Regions from separate parts of the Homo sapiens genome. Here region 2 is linked to region 1. Evidence: promoter capture Hi-C in 16 types of primary human blood cells and fetal thymus (Javierre and others, 2016). All regions are on one chromosome and are shown on one strand. The core of a region is centred on a gene start or on the middle of the fragment in contact, and the rest is flanking DNA. Distances in the headings are between cores, read along the strand shown.

Region 1 (6,222 bases), core at 282-2,781:
TGCAAAAGATTTTATTTTATCCTTTTAAAAATTCCCTTGCAAATGACCTTTGTAACATCCCCTAAAATCACACGCATGTGCCTTTACCCATCACCTATATCCAGATTTGCAGCCACACTCAGGGCCAGACCAGCAGGTGTGCTGTTGAAAGCAGCTGGCTAGGAGCCAGCTCTACAGCATCCCAAATCAGCAATAGTCCCAGAGGATCGGTGGTCCCTTTGTTCCCACCCAGAGTCACAACATACCATGGAATGTTCTGGTTAGGGGCTTACTCCTGGAAGTTCAGCTGTGAACCCCAACTATGCCACTGACTTTGGTCTTTAGGTGAGTCACTAAACCTCTTTGTGACTCAGTCTCTTCATCTGTAAAATGGAGAATTACAGTCCCTTCCTACTGAGGCTGTTGTAAAAATTACCTTAAATTGCAAAACAGGTAGACGCTTAGAACAGTGCTGCACAAAGGCTGTGCAGACAGGACAGGAGCTGTGATTAACTATGAAGTGACTGGTTGATGAGGGCCTGTGTGAACCTAACCCTCAGAGCGCCTTTCCATTTATAGGAGAAAAAGCTTAAGTCAGAGAAGGCAGCCAACATGCACTGGCACAAACAAAACAAACTCTTTCATAACCAATTTCAGCCTCTGTGAAGTCTAGAACTTTAACCAAACTCAAAGATCAAAACAAAAAATATTCCAAAGTATTACTGATTGAGCAATCAATAAATGGACCACAGGAATCAGTTTTATCCTGGAAAGCTCCTCCTTGGTTTGGTCGAAGCCGGCGTTGGAAGCCGCAGACACCCCTTGGGGTCGGCCCCCTGGGGCCGAAGGTCCTCCAGGATTCCCTACTCCCAGCAATGGAAGCAGCCGAGCGTGGCCTCGCCCATGGTGAACTGGAGAACGTGGCTGCAAATCACCTCTTTCCTGGTTTTTCCTTTTGAACTCCTTGGATGAGGGCATGAGTCAGGGGGTAAAGGGGATGACTAAGGAAAAGACAGGAAAGTTCCTGCAAAGAGGGACTTGGTCGCGTCTTCTGAGTGGGTGAGGGTGGGGACCCTGCGGAGACCCGAAAGCAAGGACCATGGGGAGAACGGAACCCCGAGAGTTGGCCCTGGAAAACAGACCGAGGCTGGGCGAAGACGGAGAGGGGGCCCAAGTCACGGGGAAATGGGACGGGGACTGTCAGAGGCGGCGAAGGGGCTAAAATGCTTGCAGGAGAGGAGGGGGCAGATGTGCTTCCAGGTCAGCCTCTGCAAACCCCTCGAGCCCCAGATGAGTACACTAAGGCCCACGGCGGCGCGGGGCCTTCCTAGGGGCCTGCGGGGGACTCGGGCCGGAAAACAAAGCGCGAGCCCGGCCGGTGGGCTCACCTGGTTGCAGAAGACCTCGGGCTGCTGGTTGGGGGCAGGCACGGCCTGGGTGGCGGCGGCTGACAAGAGGCGGCGGCCCAGGCGGGGCCCGAAGCGGGCGGCAGCGCGCAACATCGCAGCGGGCTAGCGGACAGCGAGCGGACCGAGAGCAGAGCTAGGGTCTCAGGGCCACTGAGCCGACCCCGCTCCCCGCCCCGCGCGGCAGCCAATGGAAAGGCGGGGGCGGGCCGGGGGCGGGGCTGCCTCTACCATTCCTCGGGATGGGGCGCGCAGCTGATGCAAGCGAAGCGGGTGGCGCTAGGTACCCCCGGCCCGTGGCTGCCCCCTGGCTCGCGCGACGCCTCCGCGCCCGCCACCGCCCTCCGCCTGTGCGGAAAGACCCGGCCCCGCGAACGCAGCTCGCCTTGGTTGAGCCCCCAATGTGTGCCTTTGACCCCAATGTGAACAGGCCCGAGCCAGGGCGACCCTGACCTTCCCGGCTGATGCTCCAGGTGAAGAGACCGGCCGTAAACCCAAAAGCGAGATCATTTCGGAGGTGAAGGAGATGAACGAGGTGACATGGATGGGGCAGACGGCACTGCTTTTATAAGTACCATGGTCAGGAAATGACAAGTGAGACCTGAATGATGACAGGGAACAGCAAGGGCAAAGGCCAGGAGATGAGACCACCTGGCACGTGTTAGAGAAATGGAAAGAATGAATGGAGCCCAGTTAACAAGGAGAGAGGCGGCCAGGGCAAGGGCAGGGACGGTCTTGGAAGCAGCGGTTCAGAGTTTAGAACAGGATGATTTGCATGATTTGCTTATTCTTTTTTTTTTTTTTTTTTTTGAGACGGAGTCTCACTGTGTCGCCTAGGCTGGAGTGCAGTGGCACGATCTCGGCTCACTGCAAGCTCTGCCTCCCGGGTTCACACCAGTCTCCTGCCTCCGCCTCCGGAGTAGCTGGGACCACAGGCGCCTGCCACCACGCCCGGCTAATTTTTTGTATTTTCAGTAGAGACGGGGTTTCACCGTGTTAGCCAGGATGGTCTCGATCTCCTCACCTCATGATCCGCCTGCCTCGGCCTCCCAAAGTGCTGGGATTACAGGCGTGAGCCACCGCGCCCGGCGGTGGGACTCTGATTTCAACACCAGATTCCACCAAAGTCGCCCTGGGGGCTCAGCACCATTCCACACAAACCAGAGGAAGAAAAGGCATGGGGGTGGCCCATGGGAGGTTTCTGTGGGCTGAGCCTGCTCGCCTGGCTGGATTTCAATCACACAACCATGCCTCCATGCAAAAGAGTCTGGGAAATGAGTGGCCCCTGTGCCAGGAAGAAGGGAAATAGGTTTGGAGATCAGCTGCAGAGATAATCTGATAACCAAGACTCCCTTCCTTCTCTGAATTCAGCCATGCAGGCCCCACTTCCCCTTCCCAATGGCGCCTTGCTTTTTTTTTTTAGATGGGGTTTCACTCTTGTTGCCCAGGCTGGCACCATGTGGGCTCACTGCAACTTCCACCTCCCAGGTTCTAGCGATTCTCCTGTCTCAGCCTCCCAAGTGGCTGGGATTACAGGCGCATGCCACCACACTTGGTTAATTTTTGTATTTTTAGTAGAGATGGGGTTTCATCATATTGGTCAAGCTGGTCTCGAACTCCTGACCTTAGGTGATCCGCCCACCTCGGCCTCCCAAAGTTCTGGGATTACAGGCATGAGCCACCGTGCCAGGTACTTTTTTTCCCTTAATACTGTGTGTGGAGATCGTTTTGTCACAGCACACAAGGACTATGTCCCCATTCTCTTCAACAGTTTCATGGTATTCCTCTGGATACATGAGGTAGTTTTATTTCATGAATTTCCTATGATGGACATTTAGGTTGTTTCCAATCTTTTGCCACTACAAACAATGCCACAATGTATGCTCTTGATTTGCTTAAGAAATTAATAGAAATGAGGCTGGCACCATGACTCGTGCCTGTAATCTCAGCACTCTGGGGGGGAAGCTGAGGCGGGTAGATCACTTGAGGTGAGGAGTTCGAGACCAGCCTGGCCAACATGGTGAAACCCCATCTCTACTAAACACACACACACACACACACACACACACACACACACACACACACACACACACACAATTAGCCAGGAATGGTCGCAGTGCCTGTAATCCCAGCTACTCCAGAAGGTGAGGCAGGAGATTGCTTGAATCTGGGAGACAGAGGTTGCAGTGAGCCAAGAGCTGAGATCGTGCCACTGAACTCCAGCCTGGGTGATAGAGTGAGACTACGTCTCAAAAAAAAAAAAAAAAGAAAAAAAAAAAGAAAAAAAAAAGAAAGAAAAGAAAAGAAAGAAATTAGTAGAAATGGAACAAAGAATATTTACAATTTAAATACAGATATATTACCCTCCAAAGAAGTTTAATTTATGCCCCACTACCTGTCATGTCTGAGTTTCCTTACACCCTCACCAGTAGAAGTTTCAGGATTTTTTTTTTAGCTTTGCTAATCTGAGAGACGAAAAAGTGGCATTTCACTACCACATTAATTTGCTTCTCTTTTACGAGTGAGCTTGAGCATCTCTGCCTAGATGAAGTCATGCATGTTTCCTCTGCTATGAACTAGCTGCTCATGTCTCTGGCTCACTTTTCTATTGGATTGTTGGTCTTTCTGAAATTGATTTGTAGGTGCTTTATATGTATCCAGGCAATTAACATTTTGTCTATCATATATGGCACAAATACATCCTGCCAGTCATCTTTTTACTACTAAGTAACTGTAAGTAGCTATTTCTGAACTACTGTATATTCTGTGTCATTGATCTCTGTATGCGTGTGCCAGTATGACACTGTTTTCATCACTGTAGCTTTCTAAGTCTTCTTGTTTTTTTTCCCCAAGACCAGGGTCTCGCTGTCACCCAGGCTGGAGTGCAGTAGCACAATCACAACTCGCTGCAGCCTCGACCTCCCAGGCTCAATTGATCCTCCCACCTCAGCCTCCTGAGTAGTTGTGATTACAGGTGCATGCCACCATGCCTGACTGATATGGTTTCACTGCGTCCCTACCCAAATCTCATCTAGAATTGTAACTCCCACAATTCCCACATGTTATGGGAAGAACCTGGTGGGAGGTGACTGAATTATGGGGGCAGGTCTTTACTGCACTGTTCTTTTGATAGTGAATGAGTCTCACGAGATCTGATGGTTTTAAAAACGGGAGTTTCCCTGCACAAGCTCTTTTTCTGCCTGCGGCCATTTATGTAAGACGTGACTTGCTCCTCCTTGCCTTCTGCCGTGATTGTGAGGCCTCCCCAGCTATGTGGAACTATAAGTCCATTAAACTTCTTTTCTTTTTTTTTTTTTTTGAGACACAGTCTAGCTCTGTCACTCAGGCTGCAGTGCAGTGGTGCTATCTTGGCTCACTGCAAACTCCGCCTCCCAGATTCAAGCGATTCTCCTTCCTCAGCCTTCCAAGTAGCTAGGATTACAGACGTGCCACCACGACTGGCTAATTTTTGTATTTTTTAGTAGAGATGGGGTTTCAACATGTTGGCCAGGCTAGTCTCGAACTCCTGACCTCAGGTGATCCACCTGCCTTGGCCTCCCAAAGTGCTGGGATTACAGGCATGAGCCACCGCACCTGGCCTAAACCTCTTTTGTAAATTGCCCAGTCTCAGGTATGTCTTTATCAGCAGCATGAAAACGGACTAAGGCACCAGCTAATTTTTTTTTTTTTTTTTTGTAGAGATAGGGTCTCTTTATGTTGCCCATGCTGGTCTTGAACTCCTGGGCTCAAGCAGTCAGCCCACCTTGGCCTCCCAAAATGCTGAGACTACAGGCATGTGCCACCATGCCCGGCAGCCTCCTAAGTCTTAATAGCTTGTACTAATATTTCTCTTAACCAAGATCTTTCAGCCTGGAAGTGATGAGGTTGCACATGTGCCTTCGAGGGATTCCTCTGAGAACTGCATGGAAACTCAGTTGTAGTGGGGAGGCAGGCCAGAGGCAGAGAGATGAGGAGGGCTCAGTTGGCAGAAAGAGTGTGAAGGTGGAATTGACAGGTAGCTGTGTGGAGATGAGGGCGAGAGGAGTGGAGTGGGTGCTGAGGTTCTTACCATGTGCTATTCCCCAGGATGGGGGAGCCAGGAGCAGCAGTAAACTTGGTTGTGGGGAGGGGAAGGAGAAAATGAGCTGACTTATCCACATTCGCATACATCGATACAATGTGGGCAACGTGCTTCGTCCCTGTTGGTGTGCGTGGTGTGTGTCTCAGTGCAGGACACGCTGGTCCACAGGTTCGTTTATTCTGGTTTGTCTGTGGTCTGTGGTGCTCACCATAATCCTAACCAGCAGCTCTCTCATCCCTGGTGCCCTACTGTTGGTGCACCTGTTCCACCCATGTCCTGCCCTCTCTCCTTATGGAAATCTTCCCTATCAAGATCCAGCCCAAGTCCCATCTTCTGGGAAGTCTTTTGTGACCATAGTAGCCTTCCTTAGCTGCTTTTTTTTTTTTTTTTTTTTTTTTTGAGACGGAGTCTCTCTCTGTTGCCCAAGCTGCAGTGCAGTGGTACCATCTCAGTTCACTGCAACCTCTGCCTCCTGGGTTCAAGCGATTCTCCTGCCTCAAGCTTCCCAAGTAGCTGGGATTACAGGCATGCACTACCATGCCTGGTTAATGTTTGTATTTTTAGTGGAGACAGGGTTTCACCATATTAGCCAGGCTGGTCTCAAACTCCTGGCCTCAAGTGATCCACCCAAGTCAGCCTCCCAAAATGCTGAGATTACAGGTGTGAGCCACCACATTTGGCCTCAGCTGCTTTCACACAGTCCTCAACCAAATACTGCAGACCAAGATCACCTGGATGTGCTGAAACGCTATTGTA
Region 2 (6,067 bases), core at 226-2,725, 45 kb before region 1:
GGTTCTTTGCAGTATTCTTTTCTTGTTTTTTGTGTTTTTTTCAGAGATGGGGTCTCACTCTGGGCTGGAGTGAAGTGGTGCAATCACAGCTCACTGCAGCCTTGACCTCCTGGGCTCAAGTGATCCTCCCACATCAGCCTCCAGAGTAACTGGGACCACAGGCACACATCACCACGCTCAGCTAATTTTTGTATTTTTTTGTAGAGATGGGGTTTCACCATATTGGCCAGGCTGATCTTGAACTCGTGGGCTGAAGCAAATCACCCACCTCAGCTTCCCAAAATGCTGGGATTACAGGCATGAGCCACAGTGCCTGGCCTAAAATACTCTTAAATGATGCACCCTCCATACATAGAAAATCTTCCTAGAAGTAATATCATCCTATATAATGAGATGAGGGTTAAGCTGGTGATAAAGTTAGGCATAAGTAGGGCATCACCCTAAATCCCGAGTTAAGAGGAGTTTGCTGTAGTTTGGGGAGCATATTGAAAACACATTGTTGGCTGTGGGCGGCAAGCCATCCAGGTGCTGAGGCAAGAGACCGAGGGCACGAGCTGTTCCAGTATAATAAAATATATAAAACAACAAGAGTTATACTAGATCTAGATCACAGACATGATTATATATGAATATCATTAATCATTAGTTATCCGGAGGCCTAACCGTCTCCCTGTGGTGCTGTGCTTCAGTGGTCACGCTCCTAGTCTGCCTTCATGTTCCATCCTGTACACCTGGCTCTGCCTTTTAGATAACAGTAGCAAAATTAGTGAAAGTACTAAAAGTCTCTGATACGCAGAAATAATGGCGTAAGCTGTCTCTCTCTCTCCCTGTCTATCTCTGCCTTGGCTGCCAGGCAGGGAAGGGCCCCCTGTCCAGTGGACACGTGACCCACGTGACCTTACCTGTCATTGGAGATGACTCACACTCTTTACCCTGCCCCTTTTGCTTTGTATCCAATAAATAACAGTGCAGCCAGACATTCGGGGCCTCTACCGGTCTCCGCCTCTTGGTGGTAGTGGTCCCCCAAGCCCAGCTGTCTTTTCTTTTACCTCTTTGTCTTGTGTCTTTATTTCTACAATCTCTCGTCTCCGCACATGGGGAGAAAAACCCACCGACCCTGTGGGGCTGGTCCCTACAGTTGGCCGGGCACGGTGGCTCACACTTGTAATCCCAGTACTCTGGGAGGCAGAGGTGGGTGGATTACCTGAGGTCAGGCCTTCAACACCAGCCTGGCCAACATGGCAAAACCCCGTCTCTACTAAAAATACAAAAATTAGCCAGGCATGGTGGCGCACACCTGTAATCCCAGCTACTCAGGAGGCTGAGGCAGGAGAATTGCTCCAACCCAGGAGGCAGAGGTTGCAGTGAGCCAAGATCACGTCACTGCACTCCAGCCTGGGCGACAGACCGAGACTCAGTCTCAAAAAAAAAAGAAGAAAAAAAAAAAGAAAATACATTGTCAAGACTCAAATCACAGAGTGGTGTTTCACATGATGGTAGAGACTGCTGATTGCCCTCTTGAACCCAGCTTCCATTTCTTCTTTTTCTTATTTATTTATATTTTGAGACGGAGTTTCTCTCTTGTTGCCCAGGCTGGAGTACAATGGAGCAATCTTGGCTCACTGCAACCTCTGCCTCCCAGGTTCAAGCAATTCTCCTGCCTCAGCCTCCTGAGTAGCTGGGATTACAGGCATGAGCCACCATGCCCGGCTAGTTTTTTTTTTTTTTTTTGTATTTTCAGTAGAGATGGGGTTTCTCCCTGTTGGTCAGGCTGGTCTCGAACTCCCAACCTCAGGTGACCCACCCACCTTGGCCTCCCAAAGTGCTGGAATTATAGGCGTGAGCCACTGTGCCCGGCCTTTGCCAGGTATCTTGACTAGAGGAAGATAGTGTTCTGGGTGGGAGACTCAAGAGGTCTGGTTACTGAAGATACAGATCTCACTTAAAGTAAGTAAATTGACATCTGGTTTCCAAATCAATCTATTATGAAATTGGCCCATGTCACTTTCATTTGGCCTGATCAAGTTTTTACTGAGAACTGAATTGGGCACAGTGGCTCACACCTGTAATCCCAGCACCTTAGGAGGCTAAGGCGGGAGGATCACTTGAGTCCAGGAGTTTGAAAACAGCCTGGGCAACATAACAAAGTCCCATCTCCACAAAAAATACAAACATTAGCCCAGGAAGCTGAAGCAGGAGGATCATTTGAGCCCAGGAGGTCGAGGCAGCAGTGAGCTATGATCGTGCCACTGCACTCCAGCCTGGATGGCAGAGCAAGACCCTGTCTCAAAAAAAAAAAAAAAAAAAATTTGAGAACATTGGACATTCAGTATCTCTCCCCTCTCTTGGGCATCATGTTTAGGTTCTGTCTCTAGAGCACATCTCAGAGCCTGCTACAGGTAAACAGGCCAGAAGTTAAATGCATGAAACAAATTAAATGCATGAAACATTCAAGCACATTCTTATTGGTGTAATTAAAATAAAAAAGTAAATGCATGAAACAGAAGCTGTTTACCCACAGCAGAGGAGGGGCAGAAATCATATCCAGTGTGCCATATCATTACTGCCTGCCAGCATTTCCTTAGGCTATTTCATTTATTTACTTTTTTTGAGATGGAGTCTCGCTCTGACTCCCAGGCTGGAGTGCAGTGGCATGATCTCCACTCACTGCAACCTCCACCTCCCAGGTTCAACCAATTTTCCTGCCTCAGCCTCCCAAGTAGCTGGGATTACAGGTGCCAGCCACCATGACTGCCTAATTTGTGTATTTTTAGTGAGAGACAGGGTTTCACTACGTTGGCCAGGCTGGTCTCAAACTCCTGACCTCGAGTGATCCACCCGCCTCGGCTTCCCAAAGTGCTGGGATTACAGGCGTGAGCCACCATGCCCACCTTCCTTTGGTTATTGAGATGGACAAAGAGTTACCCAGTAAGTTAAGAGCAGCTAGTTTTTAATGAATCTTAGCCCAGAATACAAAGCAGGGTGTAGCAGTTGCCTTAATGGTGATATAATTGTAAACAATAGCTTTTTCTTCCCCTATAAACTCGAGTTATAGGAAGCGTTTCAGAGAGAGGATAACACATTTGAATCTATTTTTTAAAAATCATCCTGAAAGCTAGCAGTATTGTTGTCGTTTAAAAGGTTCCTCATATACTCTTACCCTCAGCCAACCCACCATGTTTATCAATTCAAATTCTAGAACTTTCTTGACCCAAGAGATTTTGTAGGAAAAATTTCTCTTTTCAGATATTCAGCACGCAAGGATCATTTTTCTTGGTTTTGTTGCTGATCTTGCTGAACTTTCCATCAATGGCTGAGGGAGGAAGCTTGCATGATTCTTATGAGTTCTTCTGAGGCACTTTGACTGTGACCTGTAAGGGGGACAGAGAAGCCGTTAGATCTTCCTGCTTCCCTGTGATCTGTAGGTCCCCTCAGCTAGGAGCTGACTAAGTGTGAGCAGAAAGGGCTTTTCTTTTTTTCTCCCCAGACTGGAGTACAGGGGTGCAATTACAGCTCACTACTGCCTTGACCTCCTGGCTCAAGCGATCCTCCCACCTCAGCCTCCCAAGTAGCTGGGACTACAGGCATGCACCATAACACCCAGCTAACTTTTTGTATTTTTATTAGAGATGGGGTGTCACTATGTTGCCCAGGCTTGTCTTGAACTCCTGGGCTCAAGCGTTCCGCCTGTCTGGGCCTCCCAAAGTGCTAAGATTACAGGCGTGAGCCATGGCACGTGGCCTGTAACTATGATTTTGATGAAGAGTTATAGGCCAATGATGTCAGAATTTCTATTTCAAATCTGGGTCTTGCCCCTGGAGCTCCAAGCCCATCTCCCTAGATGTGTTCTCCACATCACCTCTTGGGTTTGGACAGGTACCCCAAACACAACCCTAAAGAGAACCACAGTACTTCATTCAGTGTTCCCTATCACAGGACTGGCGTCACCACTCAACCCCTCCTTGGAAACCTGGGTGCCATCTTTGATTCCTAGTTTTGCTTTTCCTCTCTATATCCAGAGTCGCCAATCCTACTCCTGGCTTCCTGTCACATATACCCTCTTTTCTCCACCTGCACTGCACCACTCCAATCCAAACCACCATCTTTCTCCTTGGAGCAGTCTCCTGACAGCTCCCTCATCCCTCCTCATACTGGATGGTCCATTCTCCCTAGGGCAAGCAGAGTGAGGTTTCTTAAATTTTTTTTTTTGAGACGGAGTCTTACTCTGTTGCCCAGGCTGGAGTGCAGTGGCGCAATCTCGGCTCACTGCAACCTCTGCCTCCCAGGTTCAAGCAATTCTCCTGTCTCAGCCTCCCGAGTAGGTGGGACTACAGGCACCTGCAACCAAGCCTTGCTAATTTTTGTGTTTTTAGTAGAGAAGGGATTTCACCTTGTTGGTCAGGCTGGTCTCGAACTCCTGACCTCAGGTGATTCACCTGCCTCAGTGTCCCAAAGTGCTGGGATTACAGGCGTGAGCCACCGCGCCTGGCCGCTTTCTTAAATTTTTAAACAACTTTCTTGAGATATGATTTATGCACAATCAAGTGTAATTGCTTTTAGAATATTTTAAGTTGTGCAATCATCACCATACTCCAGTTTTAGAACATCTGCATCATCTCCAAAAGCAATCTTGCACCCATGAGCAGCCACTACCCATTCCCCATGCCCTAGATGACCAGTAATAAGTTTCTGTCTCTATAGATTAAGCAGAGCAATCTTTTAAAAATACAAATTGAGTGGGCCAGGCACAGTGGTTCACACCTGTAATCCCAGAACTTTGGGAGGCCGAGGCAGGCAGATTACTTGAGGCCAGGAGTTCGAGATCAGCCTGGCCAACAGGGTGAAACCTCATCTCTACAAATACAAAAAATTAGCCAGGTGTGGTGGCAGGCGCCTGTAATCCCAGCTAGTCAAGTGGCTGAGGCATGAGAATCGCTTGAGCCCGGGAGGCGGAGGTTGCAGTGAGCCAAGATCACAGCACTGCACTCCAGCCTGAGCAACAGAGCAAGACTCTGGCTCAGAAAAAAAAAAAAAAAAATTGAGCCACCTAATTCTTCTACTTAAAATGCTCCCATAGCTGAGATCAAACTCCATTATCAAAGACATCAAACCCCACATCATGGCCAACAAGGGCCTGTGCATTCTGGCCTTGCTCTCTCCCCACTAACCACTACATCTTCCACCACCAGCAACCTTCCTGCAGTTCCTGGAAGAGCCATATTTCTCGCCATCACAGCTTTTCCAGAAGCTATGCTCTTTGTTTAGTACGTTCTTCTCTTCCTCCCCTCACCATCTCTACTTCCACTCATCCTTCAGGTATATCAGCTTAGATACCACCCTGTCACGTGGCCATCCTGGACATCGCCTCCTTAACACTAGTCATGTGCCAAGATTTAAGACTCACCAACTGAAGTTGGACCTTTTATCCGATGTCATAACTCAAAGCCCAGCACAGGCTGTCCACCCACATGGCCACCTCCTGCTGTTGTGGACTCTGCTCGGGCAGTGGATGAAGTGTACCCACTGGGAAGTGGGTGGGGTATACAGTAAACAAGACTGGCTGTGAGCTGATCTTTGTCATAGCTTTATGGTGGGGATACAGAGGCTCATTCTACTGTTTTTTTTTTTCCGTTTTGTTTTGTTTTGTTTTTGAGACAGAGTCTCGCTCTGTCTCCCACGCTGGAGTGCAGTGGCACCATCTCGGCTCACTGCAAGCTCCGCCTCCCGAGTTCACACCATTCTCCTGCCTCAGCCTCCCAAGTAGCTGGGATTACAGGCACTCGCCACCACGCCTGGCTAATTTTTTGTATTTTTAGTAGAGATGGGGTTTCACCGTAGCCAGGATGGTCTGGATCTTCTGACCTTGTGATTCGCCCACCTCGGCCTCCCAAAGTGCTGGGATTACAGGCGTGAGCCACCATGCCCGGTCTGTTTGTTTGTTTTTTGAGACAGAGTCTTGCTCTGTTGCCCAGGCTGGAGTACAGTGGCGCGATCTCAGCTCACTGCAACCTCCACCTCCCGGGTTCAGGCAACTCTTGTCTCAGCCTCCCAAGCAGCTGGGACCACA

The links. The method cuts DNA at HindIII sites, captures the fragments that hold promoters and counts their contacts. A CHiCAGO score of 5 or more calls a contact.
Region 2: a contact is called between a fragment that was not itself captured here and the fragment with the promoter of ALDH2 in region 1, in 2 of 17 cell types (endothelial precursors and M2 macrophages). The highest score is 6.4, in endothelial precursors.

Annotation. Positions count from the first base shown.
Region 1 is chr12:111,762,242-111,768,463 of GRCh38, reverse strand. ALDH2 (aldehyde dehydrogenase 2 family member) reads right to left here and starts at 1,531. Exons shown (of 13, transcript NM_000690.4): 1 at 1,368-1,531. The coding sequence starts at 1,481. RefSeq lists a silencer at 1,524-1,843 and an enhancer at 1,303-2,072. The HindIII fragment of the contact is 5,400 bases long and covers 570-5,969 here.
Region 2 is chr12:111,806,847-111,812,913 of GRCh38, reverse strand. It overlaps ALDH2 (aldehyde dehydrogenase 2 family member), which reads right to left. Exons shown (of 13, transcript NM_000690.4): 13 at 1-3,371. The coding sequence ends at 3,339. Among named protein-coding and RNA genes, the nearest start is that of MIR6761, 10 kb to the right of the region's middle. The HindIII fragment of the contact is 3,706 bases long and covers 1-3,328 here.